2 separate regions of the Homo sapiens genome follow, and region 1 is linked to region 2. Evidence: promoter capture Hi-C in human tissues and cell types (Jung and others, 2019). All regions are on one chromosome and are shown on one strand. Each heading gives the region's core, a stretch centred on a gene start or on the middle of the fragment in contact. The rest is flanking DNA. Distances are from core to core; before and after follow the strand shown. Region 1 overlaps ERN1 (endoplasmic reticulum to nucleus signaling 1). Region 2 holds the start of CSH2 (chorionic somatomammotropin hormone 2).

Evidence for each region. The method cuts DNA at HindIII sites, captures the fragments that hold promoters and counts their contacts. A contact is called where the count stands out against the background at its distance.
Region 1: a fragment that was not itself captured here is called in contact with the fragment with the promoter of CSH2 in region 2 in 1 of the 25 tissues and cell types used here (aorta).

Annotation. Positions count from the first base shown.
Region 1 is chr17:64,112,456-64,117,736 of GRCh38, reverse strand. The region is part of intron 1 of ERN1 (endoplasmic reticulum to nucleus signaling 1); the gene reads left to right. Among named protein-coding and RNA genes, the nearest start is that of ERN1, 15 kb to the left of the region's middle. The HindIII fragment of the contact is 4,307 bases long and covers 1,221-5,281 here.
Region 2 is chr17:63,871,647-63,876,896 of GRCh38, reverse strand. CSH2 (chorionic somatomammotropin hormone 2) reads left to right here and starts at 3,220. Exons shown (of 5, transcript NM_020991.4): 1 at 3,220-3,292; 2 at 3,558-3,718; 3 at 3,943-4,062; 4 at 4,156-4,320; 5 at 4,574-4,881. The coding sequence starts at 3,283. The coding sequence ends at 4,771. The HindIII fragment of the contact is 22,462 bases long and covers 1-5,250 here.

The DNA of each region.
Region 1 (5,281 bases), core at 2,125-4,624, 240 kb before region 2:
GCTCTCGCTCACCTGTCTTGTATAGGGCCTAGGGCCTTCCCTGACCACTGTACTCTCGTAGACTAGATCCCTTCCTGCACTCCAAATAGCACCACGTCACTTAGTGTTGGGGTAATGTACAGGTTGGTGCTCCTGTTTGTTTCTTGTCTAATCTTCTGGAGGACTGGTGTTGATAGTCCTCAGGTATGTCTGAAAATCCTGAGCAAATATGAGGGACTGAGCGTGAACATTGTTGATTTTTCTTTACTTTCTATTTCTTTTTTCTTTTCTTTTTCTTTTTCTTTCTTTTTTTTTGAGATAGAGTCTCACTGTGTCGCCCACACTGGAGTGCAGTGGCGTGATTTTGGCTTACTGCAACCTCCGCCTCCCGGGTTCAAGTGATTTTCGTGCTTCAGCCTCCCGAGTAGCTGGGATTACAGCCATGTGCCAATACGCCCAGCTAATTTTTGTATTTTTAGTAGAGACGGGGTTTCGCCATGTTGCCCAGGTGAGTCTCAAACTCCTGGCCTCAAGTGATCCACCTGCTTTGGCCTCCCAAAGTGCTGGGGTTACAGGCATGAGCCACTGCGCCTGGCCACATTGTTGATTTTTTTAAAAATTTTTATTATTTATTTATTTTTTGAGATGGAATCTCACTCTGTCGTTGAGGCTGGAGTGAGGGCAGTGGCATGATCTCTGCTCACTGCAAGCTCCGCCTCCCGGGTTCACACCATTCTCCTGCCTCAGCCTCCCAAGTAGCTGGGAATACAGGCACACGCCACAACACCTGGCTTTTTTTTTTTTTTTTTGTATTTTTAGTAAAGACAGGGTTTCACCGTGTTAGCCAGGATGGTCTCAATCTCCGGACCTTGTGATCCGCCCACCTCGGCCTCCCAAAGTGCTGGGATTACAGGCATGAGCCACCGCTCCCGGCCACGTTGTTGATTTTTAAGGATAACATGATAAGACATTAAATCCTGTCAGGGAAACCTCAGAAAACCCCCACAACTCAGAGGGGTCAGAACCAGCCATTCTTTGATTTTTGTGATGGCTGTGCACCCAAATACACAAATGGGTGTGTTTGTGTGTGTGTGTGTGTGTGTTATTTTTTTTTTACATTAAATAAGATTACATTTTTTTTCCATTGTAGGAGTATTTGTAACATCTCCCGATAAATTGAAATGCGGTAAGAAAGTTCTAAGAACAAATTTGGGGAATCTCTGACCTTTAAAGGTACTACCTCATTATGAGCAATCCAGTGACCTTATTCTAGAATTCTGTTAGGGTTCGTTTTCCACTTGCCATGAGCTGGTTTTGCAAAGAAGAAAACGGTTTCCTTTATATGTGGAGATTAAGAACAAGTTTATCTGTAGTTTTGGTGCTCGACTAACTGGGAACCAAGCCACAGTTGCTTGTAAAACGGACCCTAAGTTATCTTGATCTTGATGGTTCAGTGCTTGGAAATCTCTGGGGCTTTCGGTGCCTGGTAAAAGTTCAATCACTTATCTGATTTGTGGTTGGCAGAAGAAAAGGTATCACCCTTTCAGTTTAGGAGATGGTTGCTTTTAGAGTCTATAGTAGGTAGGTGTGCCTGGGAATCAGCCACCTGGTCCCATGTAACATTAGTTGATTTTCATGGTATTTCTTTTCCCCATCCTGAACCTTAAAGTGAGTCAGATTATTACTAATTTCTAATGTTGCAATATTTTGAGATAAGCGGAGACACTTAGATGTTGCAAGACCAGGATTGGAAATGACTATGTTCAAAGGCATTAGGACTTCTAAACTCTGTCAAATTGTTATGCGGATTTTGGGCATGTTTTGATTGGTTGGGGCTAGAAGAAGCTGCAGCAAAGCCTGAGGAGAGATGAGGGTCTGGTAAGTCATGGATCATCATGCTTCAGAGCTGCAGCCACCATCCACCTCAGGCTTCTTACTTTCTTGGAAACCCATGCCTGGAAAAATCTAATGACTTGCCCAGAGCTCAAACCAGACCATGCATCTGTGTGCCCACCTCATCTTCTGTCAGCTTCATTCACCCCAAAAGCATCTATATGTTCCAGACTCATGAGGATACCTGAGGAACTTTGGTTTTGTTTTTAAACCAAAGAGTTTTGAGAGGATAAAATAACAGGTTTTGAAGCTATATGGACACAGGCTAGGGCAAGGAGTGAGAAGACAGCTGAGCAGGGTAGGGTGGGACCAGACTCTTGGAACTGCTCTGGGCAGGACCTGGATATGCTGCCAAGTCAGCTTTCGGGAAGTTCGGCCATGGAACTTGCCGTCTTTTTTTCTGCATTACACGACTCTCCTGCTAGACGGCAAACCCCTTGAAGCCAGGAGTTTTACAGGCCTTGGGGCGGCATTGCCTTGTGTGTAACAGGACCCTTCTTTCTGCATATATGTAGGATAAGAGTCCAGCTTAGGGGCAGGGTTGGAGTAAGTGAACTAGCACACAGGAGTTGAAATAGAAGAGTCAGCCAACAGGAAGAAGTATGAGGCAGGGAGTGCCTGGAAGAGATTGGCAAATCCTGAAGTCCTTGCCAGCCTACTTGAGTAATGTGAGACCATGAGCCAATGACTTACCTTGTCCTGTAAGTTTAGTATCCCCAAGATTTCTGCCTCTTGTAATGAAAATAGTCCTGGCACTGACTGCAGGTACTGTGGAGATGGGGCGCCTGGAAGATTAAAAAGACGGGAAGGTGCAGGTTTAACTCCTCAACCCTTCAGAGGGAGCTTTCTGATTCCATGCATGATGGCTAGTCAGAGAAATGGCTCCCCCTCAAATGAGGAGTCTTAGGAAGCAAGAAAACCTGCCTTGGGGTTTGTTCTGAAGGCCACATTTCATCACAAAAACAGCCATATTTACTACGCTCTCCTACGAAGTTCTGATGTGTTCTGCTAATATTCAGCTGTAAACCAGCTAGGCAACATCAGTCGAATGTTAGTATAAATTAAAACACTGGAGGAGACTCACCGAGAGTGTGAACAGATTGTGGTTGGTGTATTACACGCCTCACCTTAGGGAGAGTGCTTTTTTTTCTTCCAGGTGGCTTTACAACGATGTGAACAGCAACCTTCCTGTTCTTTCCTTCAGCTGCATAGATAACAAATAAGACACGTAAAAAAAAGATTCTGACTCTTGTGGCCCACGCCATTCTGGGACTTCTCCCCCAACCTCACCGTGTCCCATATCCCCTCTGCCTTCTCTGTCCAGCTACACTGGTCCACCGGGTCCTCAAACACAACAAATTCTCTGCAGTCTCAGAATTTTGCATAGGCTATTCCCTCTGCCCAGGAAATTCTTCTTTCCTTCTCCCTTTCCTATAGATCTTAACTCAAACATCATTTTTAACACTGTGCTTCCCCCACCATCACAAGACCAGATGCTCTTCTTCTGTTATGCTGTCGCAGTTTCCAGTATGTCCCTTTCATGGCACTTACTACAATTTGTCATTTTATGTTTGTGTCATTATTGATTACTGGGGTCTCCTATTGGACTGTAAGCTCCATGAAAGCAGGAAACCAGATCTCATTTGTTGTGATTAGATCCTAGTGTCTCATACAGTTCTTAATGAATAATAGTAACTGACACTTACATGATGCTTACTGTATATTAGGCCCGTTCAAGAGCTTTACTTATGTTGACTCAACACTCCTTGCAAAAGCTTTTTTTTTTTTTTTTTTAGCATTTACCTTCTTATTACAGTCTTTGAAAGCCCATGGAATTATTCTAGGGACACAGAGGACTTTGTGGCATAGATTTAGGTAAAGGTCACCGGGCACGGTGGTTCACGCCGGTAATCCCAGCACTTTGGGAGGCCGAGGTGGGTGGATCACAAGGTCAGGAGTTCAAGACCAGCCTGGCCAAGATGGTGAAACCCCCATCTCTACTGAAAATACAAAAATTAGCCGGGCATGGTGGTGGGCGCCTGTAATCCCAGCTACTCGGGAGGCTGAGGCAGAGAATTGCTTGAACCCAGGAGGTGAAGGTTGCAGTGGGCCGAGATCACGCCACTGCACTCCAGCCTGGGCGACAGAGTGAGACTCTGTCTCCAAAACAAAACAAAACAAAAAAATTGCCTGGCGGCATGGTGACTCGTGCCTATAATCCCAGCTACTCCAGAGGCTGAGGCGGGAAAATTGCTGGAACCTGGGAGGCAGAGGTTGCAGTGAGCCGGGATCACGCCACTGCACTCCAGCCTGGGTGACAGAGCGAGACTCTGTCTCAAAAAAAAAAAAAGATTTACGTAAAGGGCAAAATGCTCTGGAAAAATAAAGTGTTAGATACCAGGGAGATTTGGCCATAGCTGGAAATGTTTAACTCTGCGAATACTTGGAGCCACTAATTATGTATACTTGTTTTATTCATAATTTGTAATGGTCTAGGATAGCAAAAGTAATGTGAATCATGGTTGAATTTAATAAAATGTTTTTAACCTCATCCTAAAATATCCACTGATCCATCTCATTCAATGGCAATATGCAGTGGTTAAGGGAACATAAAAACAAACATCCACACAGCTGCACAGTTCTCATGAAAGTCTATCTCATTATTGGTGGGGGTAGCACATTTAACAGCTTAAACATATAGGTCACTGCATGATGCCGCACTGGTAACTAGATAGCCAGGGAACCAACTAACCAGTAACTGTTAAAATATTTAAAATACAGCTTTTGTTTAGATCATCCTTTGGATCACCTTCTTGGGAAAAAAGCCTGCTAGTCACAGTGGAAATATATTAAGGCCCGATCTTCTGATATCCATTCCCAGAGGTTTCTTTCAGCTAGATTAAGCCTCCACCTCCAGAGCACACCCAAGTTTGTGATCTCCAGCATTGATGATCTCTTGTCTACCAGAGCAGACAGTGTGAGCCTCACACCAGGCCTCAGAGTCTGTGTGTAGCCCACTCCAATTAGACTAGAGTTGGTGACTTTTGCATTTACTGGTTTATGATAAAGGATACAGATGAAGAGACGCATAGGGCAAGGCATGCGGGAAGGGGCATGGAGATCTCATGCCCTTGGGGTATGCCCCACCCATCAGGAATCTCCATGTGTTCAGCTGTGCAGAAGCTTTTCCCAACAACTTTTTAAAGTTAATTAGCATTATCCCCATTTTATGGATGAGAAACTGAAGGCACAGAGAGGTAAGTGATTGCCTGAGGTGGTCTGGCTCCACAATCTACCTTTTTAACAACCACATTATACTGCTCAGGAACTACACTGAACTTAACAAGTATCTATTGAATCGTTTAGCCGCAGCATCATAGGTGAGTTTCCAAATGATGGAAATACAATC
Region 2 (5,250 bases), core at 1,971-4,470:
ATGCAGTAGTCCCCAGCTAGAGCCCCTGCCCCCCTCATTCCTAAGGGAGGCTTCCCTTACGAATGGCCAAAAATCCACATCTAAGTCCCCAGAACTGGCTAAAAGGTCCTGTCATGGGGGCTCCCTGTCCCAGCTGACATTGGAAGAAGGATGGTGAGGGAGGCAGGGACCCTCTTCTACTTGGAGCTCAGGGACCCACTTCCATTCCCACCTGGCTCCTCCTCTTTGCTGGTGCTGGGAGGAGCAGGGGAAAGTGGTGACACCACCCTCCCTTGACCCCATATTTCTCAGAGCTGGTATCATTGATGACACCCCTCTTGGATCCTCACACAGGCTTCCCTGGAGAACAGCCCACAGCACAGTGCCCTCCCAGCAGGTGATGAGTCTGGGGTGCTGGTCCGGTAATGCTTCAGGAATGATGGCAAAAAAAGGAGCTCTGTCTTCCGCTCTGAAAGTGGGGAGATGGCAGGGCCCCAGCATTCACATCCTAGGCCACAGGGGTGTGGGTTTTCAATGTTGGTTGCCAACACCACAGCCAACCACTTCTAGAAGCATTTGCCTGTTTGCTTGCTTGTGTTTCTACAGCATCAAGTGCTACATGCTCTTAAACTCAGGGTGGGAGAAGATTTCACCACTACAGAGGGTGTTCTTTCCTGCTCTCATCTCTGGGGGCATCTGATGCTTGTGACCTCCAGGTGGTATGGAAATAGCCCCAACCCTGGGCACCAGGAGACAGGAGGCTCAGTCCTGGCCTTCTCTGCCTTCACCTTGTCCTGCTACGAGGTTTCCACAAGGCACCCCATGCCACTGGGCCATTCTCACCTGGGAATTGAGAAAGAACAATCTGCCCCTTATGGAAAGACAAAATCAGGCAAAGGGCCCCTTGTGTTGGGGACAGGATCCCTGCACTCAGAGAGATTTAGAAGCTGAAATAACTGGGTTGGGGGCGGTGACTCACGCCATTAATCTCAGTACTTTGGGAGGCCAGGGAGGGTGGATCACCTAAAGTCAAGAGTTCGAGACCAGCCTGGCCAACATAGTGAAACCCCGTCTCTACTAAAAAAGTACAAAACTTAGCCCGGCATAGTGGTGGGCACCTGTAATCCCAGCTACTTGGGAGGCTGAGGCGGGAGAATCACTGGAACCCAGGAGGTGGAGGTTGCAGTGAGGCAAGATCATGCCACTGCACTCCAGCCTGGGAGACAGAATGAGACTCCATCAAAAACAAGAAAGAAAGAAAGAAGGAAGGAAGGAAAGAAGGAAGGAAGGAAGAAAGGAAGGAAGGAAAGAAAGAAAGAAAGAAAGAAAGAAAGAAAGAAAGAAAGAAAGAAAGAAAGAAAGAAAAAGAAAGAAAGAAGGAAGGAAGGAAAGAAGGAAGGAAGGAAGAAAGGAAGGAAGGAAAGAAAGAAAGAAAGAAAAAGAAAGAAAGAAAGAGAAAGAAAAAGGAAAGCAAGAAAGAAAAGAAAGAAAGAAAGAAAGAAAAAGAAAGAAGGAAAGAAAAGAAACTAAAATAACTAAATAACTGAGTAGCACCACACCACCTGCTCTGGAGAAAGGACTTTTGTTGTTGTTGTTGTTGTTGTCGTCGTTGTTGTGGTTGTTGAAATGGAGTCTCACTCTGGCGCCCAGGCTGGAGTGCCATGGCCCAATCTTGGCTCACGGCAACCTCTGCGTCCTGGGTTCAAGCGATTCTACCTCCTCACCCTCCGGAGTAACTGGGATTGCAGGCTTCTGCCACCACACACAGCTACTTTTGTACTTTTAAGAGATGGAGTTTTGCCATGTTGGCTAGTCTGGCCTTGAACTGACCTCAAGTGATCCACCCACCTCAGTCTTCCAAAGTGCTGGGATTACAGGCATGAGCCACCGTGCCCGGCCTGGAGAAAGGACTTTAAATGATGCAATGTGGGAAGAGCAAGGTTGTGGAGATCTGCTGCCCTGGCTGAGGTAGCTCATGTAATCAGTCTCTCTGAGCCTCAGTCTCCTGATCTGTGAAATGGGATGATACTCATACCTCCTACACAAGACAAGTGGCAGATCAGACGTGAGAATGCACAGGCAGGCCTTTGACAACTGGATAAGCTCTACACAGGTCTGGAAAGGAGGAAGAGACAAAAGAGGACGGGCTTCCATGGCTGGATAGGGCATCTTTCGGCGTGATGTGTTCTGAGTTCCAAAGCTGGGAAGAGACTCAAATCTTTTTTTTCTTTTTTTTTAATTATTATTATTCTTTTACTTTAAGTTTTAGGGTACATGTGCACAATGTGCAGGTTAGTTACATGTGTATACCTGTGCCATGCTGGTGTGCTGCACCCATTAACTTGTCATTTAGCATTAGGTATATCTCCTAAAGCTATCCCTCCCCCCTCCCCCCACCCCACAACAGTCCCCAGAGTGTGATGTTCCCCTGAGACTCAAATCTTCAAGAGCTCTTCCAACCTTGAGATTCTCTGATGGTTTCAGGGCTGTGGGAGGAAGCGCTTGTGGTCCGTGTCTGTTCCCGGGATTTCTGTTTCTTGGTTTGTGTCTCTGCTGCAGGTCCAAGGAGCTGAGGCAATACCTTGAGTCTGGGTTCTTCGTCCCCAGTGACCTGGGGGAGCCCCACCGCCTCCGCCCCAAGGTTCAGGGAAAGGGGAGAGCAATGTGTGGGGTTGGTTCTCTCTAGTGGTCAGTGTTAGCACTGCATCCAGCTGACTCAGGTGGGCCCAGGAGTCATCAGCAAAAGTGGAATTCAGGACTCAATGGTGCTCAGAACCCCCACAATCTATTGGCTGTGCTTGGCCCCTTTTCCCAACACACACATTCTGTCTGGTGGGTGGAAGTTAAACACGCGGGGAGGAGGAAAGGAATAGGATAGAGAGTGGAATGGGGTCGGTAGGGGTCTCAAGGACTGGCTATCCTGACAGCCTTCCCCGCATTCAGGTTGACCAACATGGCCTGCGGCCAGAGGGCACCCACCTGACCCTTAAAGAGAGGACAAGTTGGGTGGAGTCTGTGGCTGACACTCTGTGCACAATCCTTACAACACTGGTGATGGTGAGAAGGGAAAGACGACAAGCCAGGGGGCATGATCCCAGCATGTGTGGGAGGAGCTTCCAAATTATCCATTAGCACAAGCCCGTCAGTGGCCCCATGCATAAATGTACACAGAAACAGGTGGGGTCAAGCAGGGAGAGAGAACTGGCCAGGGTATAAAAAGGGCCCACAAGAGACCGGCTCTAGGATCCCAAGGCCCAACTCCCCGAACCACTCAGGGTCCTGTGGACAGCTCACCTAGCGGCAATGGCTGCAGGTAAGCGCCCCTAAAATCCCTTTGGGCACAACGTGTCCTGAGGGGAGAGGCAGCGCCCTGTAGATGGGACGGGGGCACTAACCCTCAGGTTTGGGGCTTATGAATGTGAGTATCGCCATCTAAGGCCAGATATTTGGCCAATCTCTGAATGTTCCTGGTCTCTGGAGGGATGGAGAGAGAGAAAAAAACAAACAGCTCCTGGAGCAGGGAGAGCGCTGGCCTCTTCCTCTCCGGCTCCCTCCATTGCCCTCCGGTTTCTCCCCAGGCTCCCGGACGTCCCTGCTCCTGGCTTTTGCCCTGCTCTGCCTGCCCTGGCTTCAAGAGGCTGGTGCCGTCCAAACCGTTCCGTTATCCAGGCTTTTTGACCACGCTATGCTCCAAGCCCATCGCGCGCACCAGCTGGCCATTGACACCTACCAGGAGTTTGTAAGTTCTTGGGGAATGGGTGCGGGTCAGGGGTGGCAAGAAGGGGTGACTTTCCCCCACTGGGGAAGTAATGGGAGGAGACTAAGGAGCTCAGGGTTGTTTTCTGAAGCGAAAATGCAGGCAGATGAGCATAGGCTGAGCCAGGTTCCCAGAAAAGCAACAATGGGAGCTGGTCTCCAGCATAGAAACCAGCAGTCCTTCTTGGTGGGGGGTCCTTCTCCTAGGAAGAAACCTATATCCCAAAGGACCAGAAGTATTCATTCCTGCATGACTCCCAGACCTCCTTCTGCTTCTCAGACTCTATTCCGACACCCTCCAACATGGAGGAAACGCAACAGAAATCCGTGAGTGGATGCCGTCTCCCCTAGGCGGGGATGGGGGAGACCTGTGGTCAGGGCTCCCGGGCAGCACAGCCACTGCCGGTCCTTCCCCTGCAGAATCTAGAGCTGCTCCGCATCTCCCTGCTGCTCATCGAGTCGTGGCTGGAGCCCGTGCGGTTCCTCAGGAGTATGTTCGCCAACAACCTGGTGTATGACACCTCGGACAGCGATGACTATCACCTCCTAAAGGACCTAGAGGAAGGCATCCAAACGCTGATGGGGGTGAGGGTGGCGCCAGGGGTCGCCAATCCTGGAACCCCACTGGCTTAGAGGGCTGGGGGAGAGAAACACTGCTGCCCTCTTTGTAGCAGTCAGGCGCTGACCCAAGAGAACTCACCTTATTCTTCATTTCGCCTGGTGAATCCTCCAGGCCCTTCTCTACACCCTGAAGGGGAGGGAGGAAAATGGATGAATGAGAGAGGGAGGGAACAGTGCCCAAGCGCTTGGCCTCTCCTTCTCTTCCTTCACTTTGCAGAGGCTGGAAGACGGCAGCCGCCGGACTGGGCAGATCCTCAAGCAGACCTACAGCAAGTTTGACACAAACTCACACAACCATGACGCACTGCTCAAGAACTACGGGCTGCTCTACTGCTTCAGGAAGGACATGGACAAGGTCGAGACATTCCTGCGCATGGTGCAGTGCCGCTCTGTAGAGGGTAGCTGTGGCTTCTAGGTGCCCGCGTGGCATCCTGTGACCGACCCCTCCCCAGTGCCTCTCCTGGCCCTGGAAGGTGCCACTCCAGTGCCCATCAGCCTTGTCCTAATAAAATTAAGTTGTATCATTTCATCTGACTAGGTGTCATTCTATAATATTATGGGGTGGAAGGTGGTGGTATGGAGCAAGGGGTAGGTGGAAAGAAGACCTGGAGGGCCTTCAAGGTCTATTGGGAACTAGGCCGCTGAAATATAAGAGGCTTGGCTGTTCCTGGGCCAGAAAAAGGCTGACACATCACCGCTATTACTCACTAAGGCCATTCCACCAGCTCAGTGGTCCCAGCTTGCTGGTCACAGCTCATTGGTCATCCCAGAGATGACTTGAAGGCATTTCTTCCTCCCCCACCATCACCAGCAACACCAAACCTAGCCCTCCAGGAGCGGGAAGAAATGAAAACAAGATGGGCTATTAAGTGCAGAGGCAAAAACTCCCCAACA